5 separate regions of the Homo sapiens genome follow, and all the other regions are linked to region 1. The links are contacts of gene promoters, found by promoter capture Hi-C in human tissues and cell types (Jung and others, 2019). All regions are on one chromosome and are shown on one strand. Each heading gives the region's core, a stretch centred on a gene start or on the middle of the fragment in contact. The rest is flanking DNA. Distances are from core to core; before and after follow the strand shown. Region 1 holds the start of SAMD8 (sterile alpha motif domain containing 8). Region 2 holds the start of NDST2 (N-deacetylase and N-sulfotransferase 2). Region 3 overlaps CAMK2G (calcium/calmodulin dependent protein kinase II gamma). Region 4 holds the start of C10orf55 (chromosome 10 putative open reading frame 55). Region 5 holds the start of VCL (vinculin).

What was found. The method cuts DNA at HindIII sites, captures the fragments that hold promoters and counts their contacts. A contact is called where the count stands out against the background at its distance.
Region 2: the fragment with the promoter of NDST2 here is called in contact with the fragment with the promoter of SAMD8 in region 1 in 1 of the 25 tissues and cell types used here (aorta).
Region 3: a contact is called between a fragment that was not itself captured here and the fragment with the promoter of SAMD8 in region 1, in 1 of the 25 tissues and cell types used here (liver).
Region 4: a contact is called between the fragment with the promoter of C10orf55 here and the fragment with the promoter of SAMD8 in region 1, in 1 of the 25 tissues and cell types used here (heart left ventricle).
Region 5: the fragment with the promoter of VCL here is called in contact with the fragment with the promoter of SAMD8 in region 1 in 1 of the 25 tissues and cell types used here (dorsolateral prefrontal cortex).

Annotation. Positions count from the first base shown.
Region 1 is chr10:75,109,850-75,113,337 of GRCh38, forward strand. SAMD8 (sterile alpha motif domain containing 8) reads left to right here and starts at 1,807. Exons shown (of 6, transcript NM_001174156.2): 1 at 1,807-1,873. RefSeq lists enhancers at 617-1,566, 1,567-2,515 and a silencer at 1,554-1,893. The HindIII fragment of the contact is 21,981 bases long and covers 1-3,488 here.
Region 2 is chr10:73,810,054-73,813,541 of GRCh38, forward strand. It overlaps NDST2 (N-deacetylase and N-sulfotransferase 2), which reads right to left and starts at 1,545. Exons shown (of 15, transcript NM_003635.4): 1 at 1,421-1,545; 2 at 746-850. It overlaps CAMK2G (calcium/calmodulin dependent protein kinase II gamma), which reads right to left. Exons shown (of 23, transcript NM_001367534.1): 23 at 2,448-3,488. NDST2-ZSWIM8-AS1 (NDST2-ZSWIM8-AS1 readthrough) reads right to left here and starts at 1,767. Exons shown (of 18, transcript NR_182658.1): 1 at 1,421-1,767; 2 at 746-850. RefSeq lists silencers at 980-1,049, 1,350-2,059. The HindIII fragment of the contact is 10,328 bases long and covers 360-3,488 here.
Region 3 is chr10:73,846,677-73,850,164 of GRCh38, forward strand. It overlaps CAMK2G (calcium/calmodulin dependent protein kinase II gamma), which reads right to left. Exons shown (of 23, transcript NM_001367534.1): 6 at 2,585-2,657; 7 at 2,337-2,439; 8 at 1,850-1,933; 9 at 1,312-1,406; 10 at 549-671. Among named protein-coding and RNA genes, the nearest start is that of CAMK2G, 26 kb to the right of the region's middle. The HindIII fragment of the contact is 4,404 bases long and covers 1-3,488 here.
Region 4 is chr10:73,920,795-73,924,282 of GRCh38, forward strand. It overlaps C10orf55 (chromosome 10 putative open reading frame 55), which reads right to left and starts at 1,983. Exons shown (of 5, transcript NR_160938.1): 1 at 1,839-1,983. RefSeq lists enhancers at 1-26, 27-673. The HindIII fragment of the contact is 6,339 bases long and covers 1-2,161 here.
Region 5 is chr10:73,996,599-74,000,086 of GRCh38, forward strand. It overlaps VCL (vinculin), which reads left to right and starts at 1,518. Exons shown (of 22, transcript NM_014000.3): 1 at 1,518-1,777. The coding sequence starts at 1,610. RefSeq lists silencers at 1,127-1,486, 1,817-1,866 and enhancers at 1,547-1,746, 1,819-2,470. The HindIII fragment of the contact is 15,261 bases long and covers 1-3,488 here.

The sequences.
Region 1 (3,488 bases), core at 557-3,056:
CTCTGTCACCCAGGCTGGAGTGCAGTGGCATCATCTTGGCTCACTGCCACTACCACCTCCCAGGTTCAAGTGATTCTCCTGCTTTAGCTTCCTGAGTAGCTAGGATTACAGGCATGTGCCACCATGCCACACTAATTTTTGTGTTTTTAGTAGAGATGGGGTTTTGCCATGTTGGTCTGACTGGTCTTGAACTCCTACCTCAAGTGATCAGCCTGCCTCGGCCTCCCAAAGTACTGGGATTACAGGTGTGAGCCGCCGTGCCGGGCCAATGGGGCAAGGTTTGAACAATGGTCCTGTAGTGAAGATGGCTAACTTCTCAGAAGAGAAGGCTGAAGAGGGCCTTGTATGTCAAATGGGGAGACGGGAGGTGAGTGTTGCCCTAGACTTTGAGAGCCAAAGGGGCTAACTGTCATCAGAAACAGTGGGAGGGAGATTCCTCTGCCTATAAGGGCTTTGGGTCCCAAAATAGAAACTGAGAAAGGTCAACCTGTCCTTCTGCCAGAGCTGGTTATCAGCAAGAGAGATGAGATGTCTCACCCTCTCTCATGTGACTTCTCAGTGGCCCTAATGGAGCTGGGAAGGGTATGAGCTGCAGTGGGGAGGTTCCCAGCTGCCCTTGGCCTTAAGACCAGTTTGAAGGGAAAGGCCACACCAGGGCATCCCATGGAAGCAGTCTACACTCATGTCTATCCCATTCAGAACCATTGAAGTCGGCCCGGCACTGTGTGGGGAGGCAAGACCAAGGAGGGGCTCGTGTCCAGGTTACAGCTGGGTTTGGACTTGGTTTATGCCAATGCTAGACCTGGCTTGGGAGGAGACCTTCCCTCAGGGTGGTGCAGCATGGTGGAGTGAGGAAAATACAGGATCTGATGTTAGAGAGATTTGGGTTGGAATATCAGTTTGCAATATGTCAGGCAGTATGTTTCTTTACTTTTCTGTGCTATAGGATCCCCCTTGCAGAATTAGCACTAGGATTTTTTTTTTGAGATGGAGTTTGCTCTTGTCGCCCAGGCTGGAGTGCCATGGCGTGATCTCGGCTCATTGCAACCTCCATTTCCCGGGTTCAAGCGATTCTCCTGCCTCAGCCTCCCGAGTAGCTGGGATTACAGGTATGCACCACCACGCCCGGCTAATTTTTGTATTTTTAGTACAGACGAGGTTTCCCCATGCTGGCCAGGCTGGTCTCGAACTCCTGACCTCAGGTGATCCCGCCTCAGCCTCCCAAAGTGCTGGGATTACAGACGTGAGCCTCCGCTCCCGGCCTTAGCACAAGGATTAAATGAGATGTTTATATGGCGTTTGGCATAGACACTGTCAAAGAGTAAATGGGCAATAAATTATAACAATGATCATTGGGGGCTGGCTATTGGAGAAGAGCTGGCTCTCTCCAGAGGAATTCGGATTACCTCCTTCTAGGCCCTAACCCCATTTACTGATCCCACAGGCCCCGCCCCGGCTCCGCTAGCCCCGCTTCCTCCTGTCGCTTTGGCCTCCGGCATGACGCATGCGCCCTCGGGCTCCTCCGCGGCAGCATCTCGGTTCTCCTCTCGGGCCCATCTGGAGCCTCGCGTCTTTTCCAGTGTGGGCCCCGCCCCCTGCCGGTAGAACCCCGTCCCCGGCCGGTAGGGCCCCGCCTCCCGAAGCAGTTCCGGTTCGGCTCCGAGCAGCTGCCGGCGCGGCGGTGACGGCGGCCGGGACGATGCCTGCGCGCAGTCGCCACCGCCCCCGCCTCCACTCCGGCTCCCCGCCCCGGGCTCCGCCCCCGCCGCTTGAGGCGCTTCACTCCGGCGAGGCGGGGAGGGCCCCGGACTCCGACGGCGGCTCGGACGCCGACTCGGAGGTGGGTCCGGGGAGCCCGACTCGGACCGCGGAGGTGAGCGGGAGCTGAGGCTGAGGAGAGGGGAGCTTGGGGGGCGCCTGCTGCCAAGGGTGAGTGGGGAGTCTGGGATGGAGCCGGGGGCTGCCGAGGGACCGCGACCTGGAGGGGCCCCGGGGAGACGGTTGAGGGAACCGGGATAGTCAGCTCTGGAATGGAATCTGAAGCAAATGGAGGTTGTCGAACTGAGGGCCTGAAGGCTGAGGGATAAGTGGAGGCCGAGGAACGAGAGGGAGAGAGCGAGAGGGGGAGGCTTGAAGAGCCCAGAGCTTGGGGGCTTTTGAAAGCTGCGCAGTGGGGGAAAAAGATCGAAGGTCCTGCGGGAATGTGGACCCGGAAGAAGAGATGCTCTGGGTTTGGCAGCGGGGATGAGGAGTCAGAGGAGCAAGACCTGGGCCGGTGTTCCCTTCCCAGGGCGAGGGAGGGCGATCGGGGCTGGGACTGGAGCCCTCTCATGGGGTTCTCCTCTTACGGAGCCCTCTTATCCGCCTCCCACCCCGGGTGGGGCTGGTGGTGATGGAGGGCAGGATTTAGGTTTGACTAGAAGGAGGAGGGCTGTTGGATGGGAAATCGTCTGGCCTCAAGGGGTGAGGGAGGCACTGAAAAAGAGAAGTGTGGTCAAGAAAGAAAAGGAGCCCTTGGGGATCTAATTTTGGGCTTTGGCATTTTTACAGGTGCCTTTTAAAACATCAAAGATCACTAGGGCAATGTACTTGGATCGTGGGGCTTTCTCGTTCGTGCACAGTGGATCATTTTAAGAATCTTGGGTGGAAGGGGCGGTGTGAATCACTGATTTGCCTAAAGGACTGGGGGAAGTAGTGGAGAGGAAGTGATGTTTGAAGAAGGTAGTGGAAGACGTGATTCTGAAAATGAAGATATCATTTGGATTTATTGACAGTAATGGTGTCCTTTTTTTCATTGTAATTTTTTCGTAGCTAAGTTTAAATACCAGACATGTTAAGATCCTAAAAATTTACTATATTACCTTTAAGTTTTAAAAACTTGAAACAAGACTTTGGATACTCAGATTTTAAAAATTAAACTTGAAACAAGAATTTGGACACTTGGATTTTACAGATACTCAACATGGACTGGTTCCACTTTCAAAGTTTTAAGTTGACACATGTATTTGCCACATAGTAAATGTATGGTCAATGCAAGTTTCTGGGTGAAGGGGGCACAGTGAACTTGCCACAGTCTAGGCGCAATACCAAATCTTCCTCTCACTGATAACCCCAGGATTGGACTTATCTCTTGAAAATTGGAGAGGTACCTTTGACTGATTGGCAAAACCAATATTGAAATACTATTTTGCAGGTATTGTGTGAATAGTATTTTTAGTAGAGTGATTTGGAAAAATAAGGACAGAGGATGCTTGTAGTTGGCAGCCAACACAACTGGGACAGGTGGGTATACAGATGCTTTTTATAGAAGACATAGTTCCAAAACATAATTATGCCAGAAAAAGAATGATTGCAATATTTATATTCACTTTAGTAGAGATAAATTGACTTCCTTTTGTGATTGTTAAGTCATAACATGGTTCCATGAAGTCTTTGACTTTAGCCACATGTCTCATATGTTTTACAACTTTTTATGTGATTATAGGTTT
Region 2 (3,488 bases), core at 295-2,794, 1.3 Mb before region 1:
ACTCAGCCTCCTTGTAAGGCTGGCAATCCCTCTCTACCACCCACCCCCAAACACACATCTCAGGGGTGATAAGGCAGAGCTGAGGTCCTTCAGAATTGACAGAGATGATTTAAAAACAGTTCAGGACAGGCGTGGTGCCTCACGCCTGTAATTCCAGCACTGTGAAAGGCCGAAGCGGGTGATCACTTGAGGTCAGGAGTTCGAGACCAGCCTGGCCAACATGGTGAAGCCCCGTCTCTACTAAAAATACAAAAATTAGATGGGCATGGTGGTGGGCGCCTGTAGTCCCAGCTACTCAGGAGGCTGAGGCAGGAGAATCACTTGAACGTGGGAGGCGGAAATTGCAGTGAGCTGAGATTGTGCCACTGTACTCCAGCCTGGGTGACAGAGCTAGACTCCAGCTCAAAAAAAAATAAAAATAAAAATAAAAATAAAACAGTTCAGCTTTGGCCTAGGTAAAACGACACGAGAAGACAGCTGGGGGAGAGGATCAAAATGGTGACGGGAAGGGGTGAATGCTAAGAATGTGATGCAACTTTAGAGAAAACATTGTAGTGAGGAGGTCACTGACGGGAAGTTGATACTCAGGGTGTATCATCCCGTATTTGAGAAATTACAACTTGCCAGCCATTCTTCTAAGAGCTTCACATATATTTAATCTTCACACCAGCCCTAAGAGGTAGGGAAAAGGTACATGCTCCATTATCCCCATTTCACATATGAGTAACTCAGAGAAGCTTAGAACCTTGCCCAGGATCACACAGCTCAGTTGGTGGGAGGGCTGGGATTCGACGTCAGGCCTGTCAAGCTCCAGAGCCGCGTTCTTAGCCGCTGCATTTTAGCTTCATACCTGGAAGAAGCAGCAAGGTTTAGGGAAGGGGCGCCGGGAGCGCCGCAGGCCGGGCCAGTGAACACTGAGGGCCAGCAGGGCTGGGCGGGGTGGGTGTGTGCGGGAGATCTCTGAGGACGGCGAAGCCAGACGGGGGCCGGGGCCGGGCCCGGGCTTGGGGAGGCCGGGACGGCCGGAGCAGCGGCGCGGAGGCTGCGGGCGCCGAGGGGGCCCGGGGCTGGCGGGTGGAGGGGCCCCGCCGAGAGGAGACGGGGGCACAGGTGGATGCGAAGAGCGCACCGGATGTGGGACACCAAAGGGGAAGGGGCCACAGGCGCGCGGCGGCGACTCCGGGGTGACATCGAGACAGCCTCTGGGCTGGGAGAGCCCTGCGGGAAGAAGGGAGCCCGCCCGGTCCGGAGGGGAGCGAGGCGGTTCTGAGGGAGGCCGGCGGAAAGGACCCGGGGCGCGGCGCACGCTGGGCCGCCCGGGACGACCCTGCGGGTGGTGATGGTGGCAACATCCAAGGGAGTCTGTTGGGGGGGCCTGAGCGCGACCGTGGGCGGGGGGGTCTCCTCAGGGGCGGCTCACCCGGAGGACTGGGCGGCGTCCCCGCTGTCCCCGGGCTCCGCCGCGTCCCGGGGCTGCCCGGCTTCCCTGCTTTCGGGGCCACGGGCCGCGTCGCGGCTGCTCCGCCATCTCCGAGCGAACGCTCTGCCGCAGCCTGGCCCAACCACCGCTCCCACCGGGGGAGGCGGCGCGCCGCCGCTGGTGGCACCCGCTCGGATCCACCGGCTCCGGCCCTAGCAGCCGCGCGACCTGGGTTCCGGGAAATCAAGCGGCCCTCCGCAGTGCCGGGCCGAGCCGCGGCCTCCGAGACGGCGGGCTCCGCGCCCCGCCCGCGGAAGCGCACCCCCTCCTCTCCGCGCGATGGCACTGCCGGCCGAGCGTCGGGGACCACGACTTCGGAGCAGGGGCGGGCTCAGGCCTGGGCTCATCCACTCAGCCCCGCGGAGGGGGAGCCGGGCCGGCCCACTCGGGGGAGGGGAGGAGTAAGAGGCGGAGCGGCCTAACCGGAGGCGGGACCAGGGGCGGGGCGAGGCCCTCAGCCGGCTCCCAGGGCACTCACCCTCCCTCCCCGCCCCGCGTCGCCTGCGCAGCACCGAGCGCTGTTTGGAGGCTGTTTATGAGAAGTTTTTTTTTTTTTTTTTTTTTTTTTTTTTTTTTTTTGAGACGGAGTCTCACTCTGTCGCCTGGGCTGGAGTGCAGTGGCGCGACCTCGGCTCACTGCAACCTCCCCCTCCCAGGTTCAAGCGATTCTCCTGCCTCAGCCTTCCGAGCAGCTGGGATTACAGGCGCCCGCCACTATGCCCAGCTAAATTTTTTGTATTTTTTAGTAGAGACGGGGTTTCACCATATTAGCCAGGCTGGTCTCGAACTCCTGACCTCGTGATTCGCCCGCGTCGGCCTCCCAAAGTACTGGGATTACAGGCATGAGGAAGTTTTATTCTCAAAAGTACCCAAAGGGAGTAGGAGGAGGTACTCTCTCCAACCTGGTAAGCCAGGCTGCTAAAATCTACGCCTCTGGCCGTAAACCTCCAACAGCAGTAACACAATGGACTGTTTAAAGGTTATTTTATTAAATATTTTCAGTTCAAGGTTTCATTGTAACAAAGCTATGAAGGGTCTACCAACATTCAGAACAAACACTATTTTTAAATTATTTCTATGTTGTCATGCAAAAATTCTGCATCAAATGCCTTCCGTTTCTTGTTTAAAAGGTGATTTTTTAATAGTCTATTGTCTATAGATGCTGACATTAGCCCCAGAAGAGGAGTAAGAATGCTAAGAAGTGGGGCTGGAGCAGCCATATGAAGCTATGGGTCTCAATGAATTCTAAGACCATTTGTCTTCAAGCCAGCAAAACGAAACCCTGTGGTGAAGGGATTTGCGTGCTGGCACTGCAGACTGCAGGGCAGGAAAGGGCTAGGGCCCAGGGGCTGGGACATGCATGAGGTGCTCGGAGGAGCCTGGCTAAATCCAAGCACCAGCACCTGTGAGTCTGCTCTCTTCTCAGCTGGCTCCCAAGTAAACCTGTAGCTTTGCCTCTTCTCCCAGCTCTCGTGCCTCCTGAAGGTAGTCCAGGGAACTGGAATCTACCCACCTTTCCCCCAAAAGTGGAGATGTTTGTGCAGATAAATCTGCAGCGTTGTTTTGAGGGAAACCAAGGCCATGACCAATTGCTCCTCCATTATCTTCTTTGCTATCTGCTTAGGGTATAGATCTCTTCCTCCTGGAATGGAACTCCTTGAGCACAGAGAGGGACAATGAAGGTAGAAGCCTTGGCTCTGGACACCTCTTTTGGGTTACATGCGGGGAGGGGTGATGCCCATGCAGATTGTCCAGCAGTAAGTCTATACTTCAGTTGGTCAGTAAAGAGGCCTCTGTAAGGACACCTCTTCTTCTTGCCAGAGCAGTCAGGTCAATCTCAAAGACAGGAAAAGAGATGGACGTGCAGCAAGGAAGAATAAGAAGGGAGGCAGCCCCAAAGGCAGCCTGAATGCATAGAAACGACCACCACCTCTTCTCCCACTGCCTCACTCCTCCCATCCCACAGGGGCACTTGGCAGAGGGCCCAGGCCCAGATGAGGGTCAGCAT
Region 3 (3,488 bases), core at 591-3,090, 1.3 Mb before region 1:
TCTGAAAGTTGATATTTCAGCTTGAAAGAATTGTGTATAAAAACAGAGTACGTCAACCCACACTGATAGCCTAGAGGACTCTCCTAGGACTTTAGCGCAGAAGCTTTATGCCTCAGCTTTTATGCTTTTAATGACTCAGAAACCCCTTCTGTTGATTTGTTGGATCTTGGTCACCACTCCAGTGGAGTTGAGATCTGAGTATGAACCCCAGCTTGGGAATTCACTTTGGGTTTTGCCAGCTGCTTTCTATCACCGGCTACCTGGAGTCCACAAGGGTCAACCTGAGCCCTCATCCAAGAACAGAACCAATCCCAGCCTGACAGCCATGAGTGGGGGAGAGAGGAGCAGTGGCCCACCAGCCCCATCAGCCTCCCGAGTCTCCCTGGTGACATTTATTGACCCTGGCCCTCAACAGTCCTCTGCCCGCCTGCTCAGTTATTGCTTGGGGCCCAGAATGAATCTCTGCTGGTAAGAAGGAGGGGGTGGTGCCGAGGGCACACAGAAGGCTGACACCCCTGAGCTCCTTGGCCACTAGCAAAGACACTTACACAGACCCACGGGTGCTTGAGAGCCTGGTCAGCCGTGATGCGCTTTGCTGGGTTTATGGTCAGCATCTGGTTGATCAAGTTCTTGGCTTCAGGAGTTACCGTGTCCCATTCTGGTGATGGGAACTAAGGAGCAGGAATAGGGAGAAGAATGTGGTATTGGTGAGCTTCATACCCTGCAACACTGGTTCTGTCTTCAACTCAACTCCTGTAATTGGGATACTCTGTGGTACCTAAAGCTGTGACTGGCAGAGTTGGAGAAGCCCTGCGGCTATTCCAGAACCTGTGTCAACTTAAAGACTTGGAAAGACAGACAGAACAGTCATGTTTAGAATGCCAGAACATCAGATTAGAGCGGGAAGGGGACTCCAACATTCTCTGGTTTAAGCCCAGCTCTATACTTAGGAGGGAACAGAGGCTCAGCAATGTGTCCAAGGTGCCACTGCAGTGGAGGGAGTCTCCAGGCCTTTTGTCCCTGTGTTACACAGCACACCAATGAGGCCGCTCCATTCTTTGCAAGTAAAGATCAAAGGACTTCAGTGGACTCCTCAATTTTAGTTATGAAGAAGGCTGTGCAAAAGAAAGTTGCTCCCTGGGACATAGAGTGGCAAGAATTGGGCCCTGGATGCCCATTCCTGGGTCCTCAAAGTCCCCTGACACCCCCGTATCACGTGACACACTAAACAAGCCTGCTCCCTTGGACAGAGCCCGAGGAGCAAGGACATCTGCCCTTCCTGGCCTGGCTGCCCGGCTCTCTGGTCCTTACATCATAGGCTCCAGCCTTGATCTGCTGATACAGCTTGTGCTGATCCTCATCCCAGAAGGGAGGATAGCCCACCAGGAGGATATACAGGATGACCCCTACGAGACAGAACACACAGGTCATGGGGGTCAGTCGCCTACTTCCCTGAGGAACCAAGAAAAACCATGCAGGGCTCAGAGCCACCTAGAAAGGCAGGGGCCATACCAGAGTCAGAAGTGGATGCCAGCCGATAATGCTATGCTACCAGCCCCTCCTGCTATGCCTCACACTTCACGTCACCAAGTCACACCAGGGATTTCTTTAGGCACAACCCATCCTCTAAGGCGTGGGCAAATCCCTCTCCAAGAAGGATACAATGTCATCCCAGAAGTACGCAGGGAGGAGGGTGTGATGGGAACAGCCATCCCAGGGGCAAACACCATAATTTCACATACACCAGGCACGTGTGTGACCTGCAAGGAATAGCGATGCCTCTTTCTTGCCATCATCGGAAGTTGAGGGCCCTTAACAGCGAAAAGCTGAGAGCGTGGAATGGGCTTACCGCAGGCCCAGATATCCACAGGTTTTCCATAGGGATCTTTCCTCAAGACCTCAGGGGACAAGTAACCTGGGGTGCCAGCAAAACCTGTAGCAAAAGAGAGGGCAGAGGCATACTGAACCCACTTTCTCTCTCGTTAAATCCACACCAGCCATTTCCCCCAAGTCCCATCTTATTCCTGCTGCTTTTGCTACATAAACTCTCAGCACATGGGCAGCAAGAGCTGACAGGCTGGGCTTCTTGTAGCGCCTGGAATCTGAACCAGACGGCAAAGCCGTATGCCTACCAGGAACTCCAGCTCCTTCCCACAGGCAGCAAGAAAGCAGTGCTGACAACAGCTAGACTTACTGTACTGAGTCGCGTACGGCCAAGAGAGATCTCGGAGGCCAGGACCATTAAGGGTCTGGCTTCTAGTTCTAATAGAGGAAGGCAGATCAGGAAGAGGAGGAAGGGCGGGGGCTGCATTCCGGGAAGACAGGATCACCCTTACCAAACCAAGCCTGCTGCTCTCCCTGTACTTCGATGGCTAGGCCAAAATCAGCCAGCTTGACGGCGGCACCCTTGCATTTACTCGCCAGCAGCAGGTTCTCAGGCTGCAGAAGAAACACAGAGAACCTTGTGAGCACCCACCCTGCAGCCCAGAGGAAGCCTAGTTTGGGCCTACGCAGTACCACTATCTGGCACCAGGTGGCGCCAACACTTCATGAGCAGAGGCACGGAGGGGAGCCTGGGTAGTACCTTCAGGTCCCTGTGGACGATGTCATGCTGGTGGATGTGGTTAACACTCTCCAGAATCTGATGTATACAGTGGCTAAAAAAGCAGAAGGAAAAGAAATGTTAGCGCAGGGTTAAACCACCTCATCCACATCCACAACCACATGCTGCAGACTAAGGCATGTGACAAGGGGCCACGGATTCACAGAGAATCACTTAACGGCCACTGGAACCTTAGACTCTGCACATCATCTTGTTCAACCTATTTAAAGAAAGAGGAAACCGAGGCCCAGGCAGATGCAATGGTTTTTCTAGGATCACCGCTAGAACGGGTTCCTCTCACCCCCTTTTGACTGGAAAGGTCTAACACAACCAACTCATTTCCAAGAGATCAGGAGACAGCCCAGAATCCTGAGGAAGAAGAGAGCATCCAATCCCTTCCTTCTTTCTCTTTCTCCATACAGTAACTTTGTTCTTGGAGAAGAAGCTTGTGCTGGCAACTTAGGAAGGAGAGTCCAACTAAACAACCTAAGCTACTTTGGCGGTGGGTGCACTCATTCATTTCCCTAAATGTTTATTGAGTGCCTAGGATAATGAAGATGGACAAGACCCAATAGCTGCCCTGAGGTCTGGCATCCAGTAAGGCAGCTAAAACAAGTACAAAGATACCTTTAAGAAACAATGTACTTAAGAGCTTCCAAACAGGGCATTTAAGGAGCACTTCTGATGATTTTGCGTAGAGAAAAAAACCCAAAGTTATTTTATTATTTTATTTTTGAGACAGGGTCTCACTCTGTTGCCTGGGTTAGAGTGCAATGTCGTGAACACAGCTCACCGCAGCCTTGACCTCCTGGGCTCAAGCAATCCTCCCACTTCAGCCTCCCCAGTAGCTGGGACCACAAGCATGAGCCACCGTGCCCAGCTAATT
Region 4 (3,488 bases), core at 733-3,232, 1.2 Mb before region 1:
GCCACCGTGCCCGGCCTTTTTTTTTTTTGTTTGAGATGGAGTCTTGCTCTGTCCCCCAGTTTGGAGTGTAGTGGCTCAATCTCAGCTCACTGTGCAACCTTTGCCTCCCGGGTTCAAGCAGTTCTCCTGCCTCAGCCTCCCGAGTAGCTGAGATTACAGGCGCCCGCCACTACGCCTGGCTAATTTTTTGTACTTTCAATAGAGATGGGGTTTCACCATGTTGGCCGGGTTGGTCTCAAACTCCTAACCTCAAGTGATCAACCCGCCTCAGCCTCCCAAAGTGCTGGGATTACAAGCATGAGCCACCATGCCAGACCAACACTGTGCTAAATTATTCATGTGTTGTCTGAGTTAATCCTCCCAAGAATCCTATGAGGAAGGTAGTATCACTAGCCCCATTTAACAGTAGAGAAAATGGAGGCACAGACAGATTGAGTGACTTGCACGAGGCAATGCAGCTCCAAATGCAAAGAGTCAGGGTTCGAACCCAGGCAGCCATCTCCAGAGTCCTCATGCGCGGTACTAGGATTTATCACCTCTCAGGAGAGTCCAACTAGGGCAAAAGGAGAGCAGCCCCCCTTTCAAGCTTTCTACTTTATGGTTGCTGGGTTTCTAGGCAACAGCTATCAGAATTTTTTTTTTTTTTTTGAGACGGAGTCTCACTCTGTTGCCAGGCTGGAGTGCAGTGGCGTAATCCTGGCTCACTGCAACCTCCGCCTCCCGGGTTCAAGTGATCCTCCTGCCTCAGCCTCCTGAGTAGCTGAGATTACAGGCACATGCCACCACGCCCGGCTAATTTTTGTATTTTTAGTAGAGACGGGGTTTCACCATGTTGGCCAGGATGGTCTCGGTCTCTTGACCTTGTGATCCACCCGCTTTGGGCTCCCAAAGTGCTGGGATTACAGTTGTAAGCCACCCGCCCAGCCCAGAATTTTTTTTTTTTTTTCCATACACAGTCTTGCTCTGTCGCCCAGGTTGGAGTGCAGTGGCCCATCTCGGCTCACTGCAACCTCTGCTTCCCAGGTTCAAGCTATTATCCTGCCTCAGCCTCCTGAGTAGCTGGGATTACAGGCGTGCACCACCACACCCGGCTAATTTTTGTATTTTTAGTAGAGACGGGGGTTTCACCATGTTGGCCAGGCTGGTCTCAAACTCCTGACCTCGTGGTTCACCCACCTCGGCCTCCCAAAGTGCTGGGATTACAGGCGTGAGCCACTGCGCCCAGCCTCATCTATCAGAATTTTAATCCTCTCCTAGATAACAATTCTTTCCTCCTAGAAGATTCCCAGGCCAGATGAGGAGACCACACTCAGCCATTGGTTTCAAAGTAAAACTTCACTGTTCTCACAGTAACCTCAGCCTTTCTGCTGCAATCTGGTTTCATTGAAGTGGTTTCCGTTTTCACCAGAACCCCTCTTTCTGAAGTATTCTCAGCCCATTATATTAACAGCACTCAGCCTGCTTTCCACGTATGCCCTATCTTTCCCAAGCTGACCACAGCAGCACCCCTGCCTATACCCCTCCATACTCACTCCCATTGGGTCCACCTTCCTTCCAAGAAGGAAACATTTAAGCCCTCCCTTTGAATTAGATGAAGTAAGAGGAGTTGCTGAGGTGTTTTTTAAAAATCAATTCTGGGCTAGGTGCAATGGCTCACACCTGTAATCCTAATACTGTGGGAGGCCTAGACGGGAGGATTGCTTGAGCCCAGGAGCTCGAGGCTGCAGTGAGCTATGATTGCACTACTGCACTCCAGCCTGGGTGACAGAGCAAGACCCTGTCTCTAAAGAAAAAAAATCAGTTTTATTGAGATATAATTCATATATCATACAACTTACCCATTTATTCTTTCTCTTTTCTAGAGACAGGGTCTTGCTCTGTCACCCAGGCTGATCTCAAACTCCTAGGCCAGAGTGATCCTCCCACCTCAGCCTCCTGAGTGGCTGGAATTACAGGCTCATACCACCACGTCTGGCACCATTTGAAGTGTACAATGCAATGGTTTTTAGTAGATTCACAGAATTGTGAGACATCACAATCAATTTTAGAACACTTCATCACCTCACAAAGAAATCCTGTACCCACTCACAATCACTCCGTTTTTCTCCCCAACCCCCTCAGCCCTAGGCAATCACTAATTTACTACTTTCTGTCCTCTCTGTGGGTTTGCCAATTCTGGGCATTTCATATCAATAGAATCCTATAATATGTGGTTCTTTGTGACTGGCCTCTTTCACTCTTAACATGATGTTTTCAAGTTTTATCCATGGCATAGCATGTGTCAGTGAGGTTGCTGAGTTTTAATAACAAATTGAGGGAAAAGATGGTCTAGGCGAGGTGCAGTGGCTCACATCTGTAAATTCCAGCACTTTGGGATACCAAAGTGGGAGGATCCCTTGAGTTCAGGAGTTCCAGAACAGCCTGGGCAACATAAAGAGGCCCCATCTCAAAAAAAAAAAAAAAAAAAAAAGGATGTTCTAGGTCTCTTTTTGAGGTTTCAGTCACATTGAGATTCATTCAACAATCTTTGTCATTTCTTTCTTTCTTTCTTTTTTTTTTTGAGATGGAATCTCGCTCTGTCGCCCAGGCTGGAGTGCAGTGGCGCAATCTCGGCTTACTGCAATCTCTGCCTCCCAGGTTCAAGCAATTCTCTGCCTCAGCCTCCCGAGTAGCTGGGATTACAGGTGCCTGCCACCATGCCCCACTAATTTTTTTCTATTTTTAGTAGAGACGAGGTTTCACCGTCTTGGCCAGGCCGATCTTAAATTCCTGACCTCATGATCCACCTGCTTCGGCCTCCCAAAGTGCTGGGATTACAGGCATGAGCCACTGCGCCCGGCCCTTTGTCATTTTTTTAAAGTACCCATACACAGGACATTATTTTAGATACAAATGAGGCAGTCCTAGTCCTCAAGGAGCTCACCACTTTGCAAAGTGCTATACTAAGTCTGCATAAAATGCATGGAAAAATAATGAAGAAGCAATTGATTCTGCCTGGTGAAGTCAATGACGACTTTACAGAAGAGGTGATATTTTACCTGGACATTCAAATACACACAGAAATTTGCCAAACTAGAAGAAAGGCATTGTAGGCGTAGGGAAGTTCATGGAGGCATGAAAAGGTGAGGTGTTCTAAGGAAATGAGGAATAGTCCATTGTGGTGGAGAACTCTGGGGGGCAATGAGTAGGTGGAGATGGTGGGGAAGGATCTGGTGGGATCCAGCTGGTGATGACCCTGCTGCAGGACTGATTCTCAGCAGCAGGCACTGGTTCTGCTCAGTGACTAAACAGATGCTGTCCTGAGATCCTCTCCGCGTGGCCCCTGCCATCAGCCTCTCTCCACTTCTTCATGATCCAGCAACCACAGGGTTAATGCCTGTGGCACAGCAAAGGCCTCTGAGATCCTCCCTCCTCCAGCTGGCTCAGGCGAAAGTGTCCTACTGGGGTATCTTGATAGTTAAATATTTTGACTATCACCTCTTGCCCTC
Region 5 (3,488 bases), core at 268-2,767, 1.1 Mb before region 1:
ATTAACACAAAGTAATGGGCAGAGAAAACAGCTGTGGTGGTTGTGGTAGGACTAGACAAAAATTTTCATTTGATGTGAGAATCTTTTGCTTGGAGGCATTACTGAAAGTGTTTACCTCAGAATGGGAAAGCTTGGGCAAAAGCGAATTTGAAGTAAGTAAGACGTTTGGAAGATGTCTTTTTTTTTTTTTTTTTTTTTTTGAGACAGAGTCTTGCTCTGTCGCCCAGGATGGAGTGTAGTGGCGCGATCTCCGCTCACTGCAAGCTCCGCCTCCCGGGTTCACGCCATTGTCCTGCCTCAGCCTCATGAGTAACTGGGACTACAGGCGCCCGCCACCACGCCTGGCTATTTTTTTTGTATTTTTAGTAGATACGGGGTTTCACCGTGTTAGACAGGATGGCCTAGATCTCCTGACCTCGTGATCCGCCCGCCTCAGCCTCCCAAAGTGCTGGGATTACAGGCGTGAGCCATCGCGCCCGGCCTGGAAGATGTCTTATACAAAGCGTGAGGGAACTGGATAATTTGGTCTTACCTATCAAAATATAAAATGCATATACTTTTGCGTTTTTCTCTTTCCTGGTAGGCATTTGCGCTAGATAAATACACAGATGCACAGCACAGGGGTAAGTACAATTCATGCAGAATTGTTTTTTAATAGTGAAAACCAGGACCCAACCCAAGTCCATGAGTAGGAAATTGGTTCTGTAAATAGTTTTATTTCATGCAATGGAATATCATGCAGTCATTAAGAAGAATGAGGTAGACCTCTACCAGCAGTGAAAGATAAGGGCATTTTAATCAAGGGCAATCATACCTAGTTCCAGGAAAATGTTTATTAATCTCATTTAGTTAGAAAATATATATGTAGAAGTGAATCTATAGACAAGTCTAGAAGGCTACACACCCAGCTGTTAAACAGAATGTCTTTGAGGAGGGCAGGGGGCGGAGTCTGCGTTTACGTGAATGGGACGCTGCTGTTTCTCAGTGCACCTCTGCTGTTTGAATCTTTTACTAAAAACCTTCCCATGCATTGCTGGGAGGGAATGGAAGGAGTATTTTGAGGGTTTCGTGTGAAGGGAAAAGTTGAGGAGGGGACGTGGGAGACCCCTTGGTCTCATCAAACTCTAGCGCCGCTTGAGGTGAGGAGACCCCGCCCCGCTGAGGTGATTCTGCAGAGGGGCGGAGCCCCCCAGATCCGAGGCGGGAGGCGGCCCGGGGGCGGGACCAGCCGGCTCCAGCGGCCCGCTCCGCTCCCACCATGCCCTTATAAGGAGCGCCCGGCGTTAGGGCTCGGGAATCCGGTAGCAATCCCGGCGGCTCAGCCCCAATCCCAGGCCCCTCCCTTAGGAATGGGGGAGGGGCGGGGTTTGGCGGCGCGGTGGCTGGGGCGGAGCATCTCGAAAAGGGACCAGTAGGAGTGGCGGCCCAGGTCTGAGCTGCGCTGCCATTGGGCGCGGCGACGAGAGGGGGCGGGGAGCCCGTGAGGCTGGTTACGCCGAGGGAAGCCCCGACTCCGTAGTCGCTGCACAGTCTGTCTCTTCGCCGGTTCCCGGCCCCGTGGATCCTACTTCTCTGTCGCCCGCGGTTCGCCGCCCCGCTCGCCGCCGCGATGCCAGTGTTTCATACGCGCACGATCGAGAGCATCCTGGAGCCGGTGGCACAGCAGATCTCCCACCTGGTGATAATGCACGAGGAGGGCGAGGTGGACGGCAAAGCCATTCCTGACCTCACCGCGCCCGTGGCCGCCGTGCAGGCGGCCGTCAGCAACCTCGTCCGGGTGAGCGCGCAGGGCCTGGCGCGGGAGCGGGCGCGGGAGGTATCCCCGGGGCCCCGGCCCGCGTCGCGGCTGCCTGTGGCCGGCTCGCTGGCCGTGGCTTTCCGCGTGGGTTCCGGAGCCAGGCGCCGAGGGTTCGAATGGCCTCTTCTCCGCCCTGTGACCTTGAGCGAGTCCTGAGCCTCTCCGGGCCTCAGTGTCCTCATCTATAAAATGGGAGCAGTCATGAAAAAGGCTGCCTTGCGGGCTTGTCGTGAAGATATGGCGAGGTATTATTCGTGGAGTGCCTCGCGCGGCGTGTGGCCCACAGCAGACACCCAATAAATGAGAGTTGCTGGGATGTCCGAGGGTCCCTGCCCCGCGCAGGCTTCGCCCCCACGTTGACTTCCTCGCTCTCAGCGCCTTTTAGGCCTCCTCGATCTGGCTGTGCGGGGGAGGGAGAGCGGGCCTTCCCACGGATCCCTTGCCTTCTCTTCTAGGGATCCTTATTTGAGCCACGTTGTCCTCCTTTCTAATACTTCTGCCCCTCACCCTGAGACCCGCCTCGCCCACCCCCGCTCCCCAGAGCTCCCTGTATTCCGCCCTTTTATTCACTTGCCTCACTCTCTGTCGCCTCCTCCTCCCTCCTGGGCATTTTACTTATGCTCACTCCTCTGGCACTCTCACACCTTTATGCAGTCATTCGTGACCACAAGCCCGGTTTTTCCTTCCGCTCAGCCCTGCTGCCCTTCCTTTCATTCCCTCCTGTGGACATTTTCACCTGGCGTTACCTGCTGTCAAACGGCCTCCTCCCACTGGGGCCTTTCTAGACTCGGGGGCCCTCCTTGGCCCCTCCTCCTGGCAGGAAGCAAGATGGAGCTGTTGGGAGAGGCCTGTGGAATCTGGGATCTGCCGCCCCTGCCGGAGAGAAGGCTGGGGCATCCGCTCCCCATCCACAACTTTCCTGGTGGCTCTGCAGACCCCTGTAACCCACAGCTGTGACTCATAACCGAGGTGATTCCTGGAGGAGGTGGAGCCCACGTCTGAAATGGGAAAAAAGAGGTGCTGAGACCAGTCTCCCAAGACTCCCCTGGCTAATGTCACACTTTTCTTTCCCACCCTGGGTGGGTGACTCAGACTGGTCCTGCTTGTGAGGAACAATTTTGGAAAAAGTTCATACTGCTCCCCCACTGAGCTGTGTAAATAGTGTGTGTCAGGGCAGTTGGGCGGCAACTGTGGGTCTGTCTGGGTGGGGCTTGGGTTACTTTTCTGATTTGAGCACTTTAGTGCACTTAGAGGCTCTTTAGCAGCTGAAAGTCTTCCTCAGTCTTCAGGGGTCCCTGGACTGTCTCAAGCAATTTAGGAGACTGGTAGCTAGGAAGACAGGGTGACACCACCGACCAAATTCCTGATCTTTCTTCTCTATAGCTTTAGTAAGAATCTATTCATTCAGTAAGAATGCTGTATTCATTCACAATGTCTACTTGTACATTGTTCTTCTTTTTATAACTAATTTGAACAGAACACTCCAGAGTACATTCTTATGTAGTGTTGTCTAACATGGCTGCATTCCAGGCCTCCATTTTTCAACAAATAGGAAACAATGTAAAGAGACAAGGTAATAGTGTCTCTCCATGTAGTACTTCAGGAAATGAAATCTTAAAACCACATGTTGCACTTGGAACAGAGCTAGTGTAGTCTAGGGGTTGATATCTGGTTAGGCTATTTAGAGAAA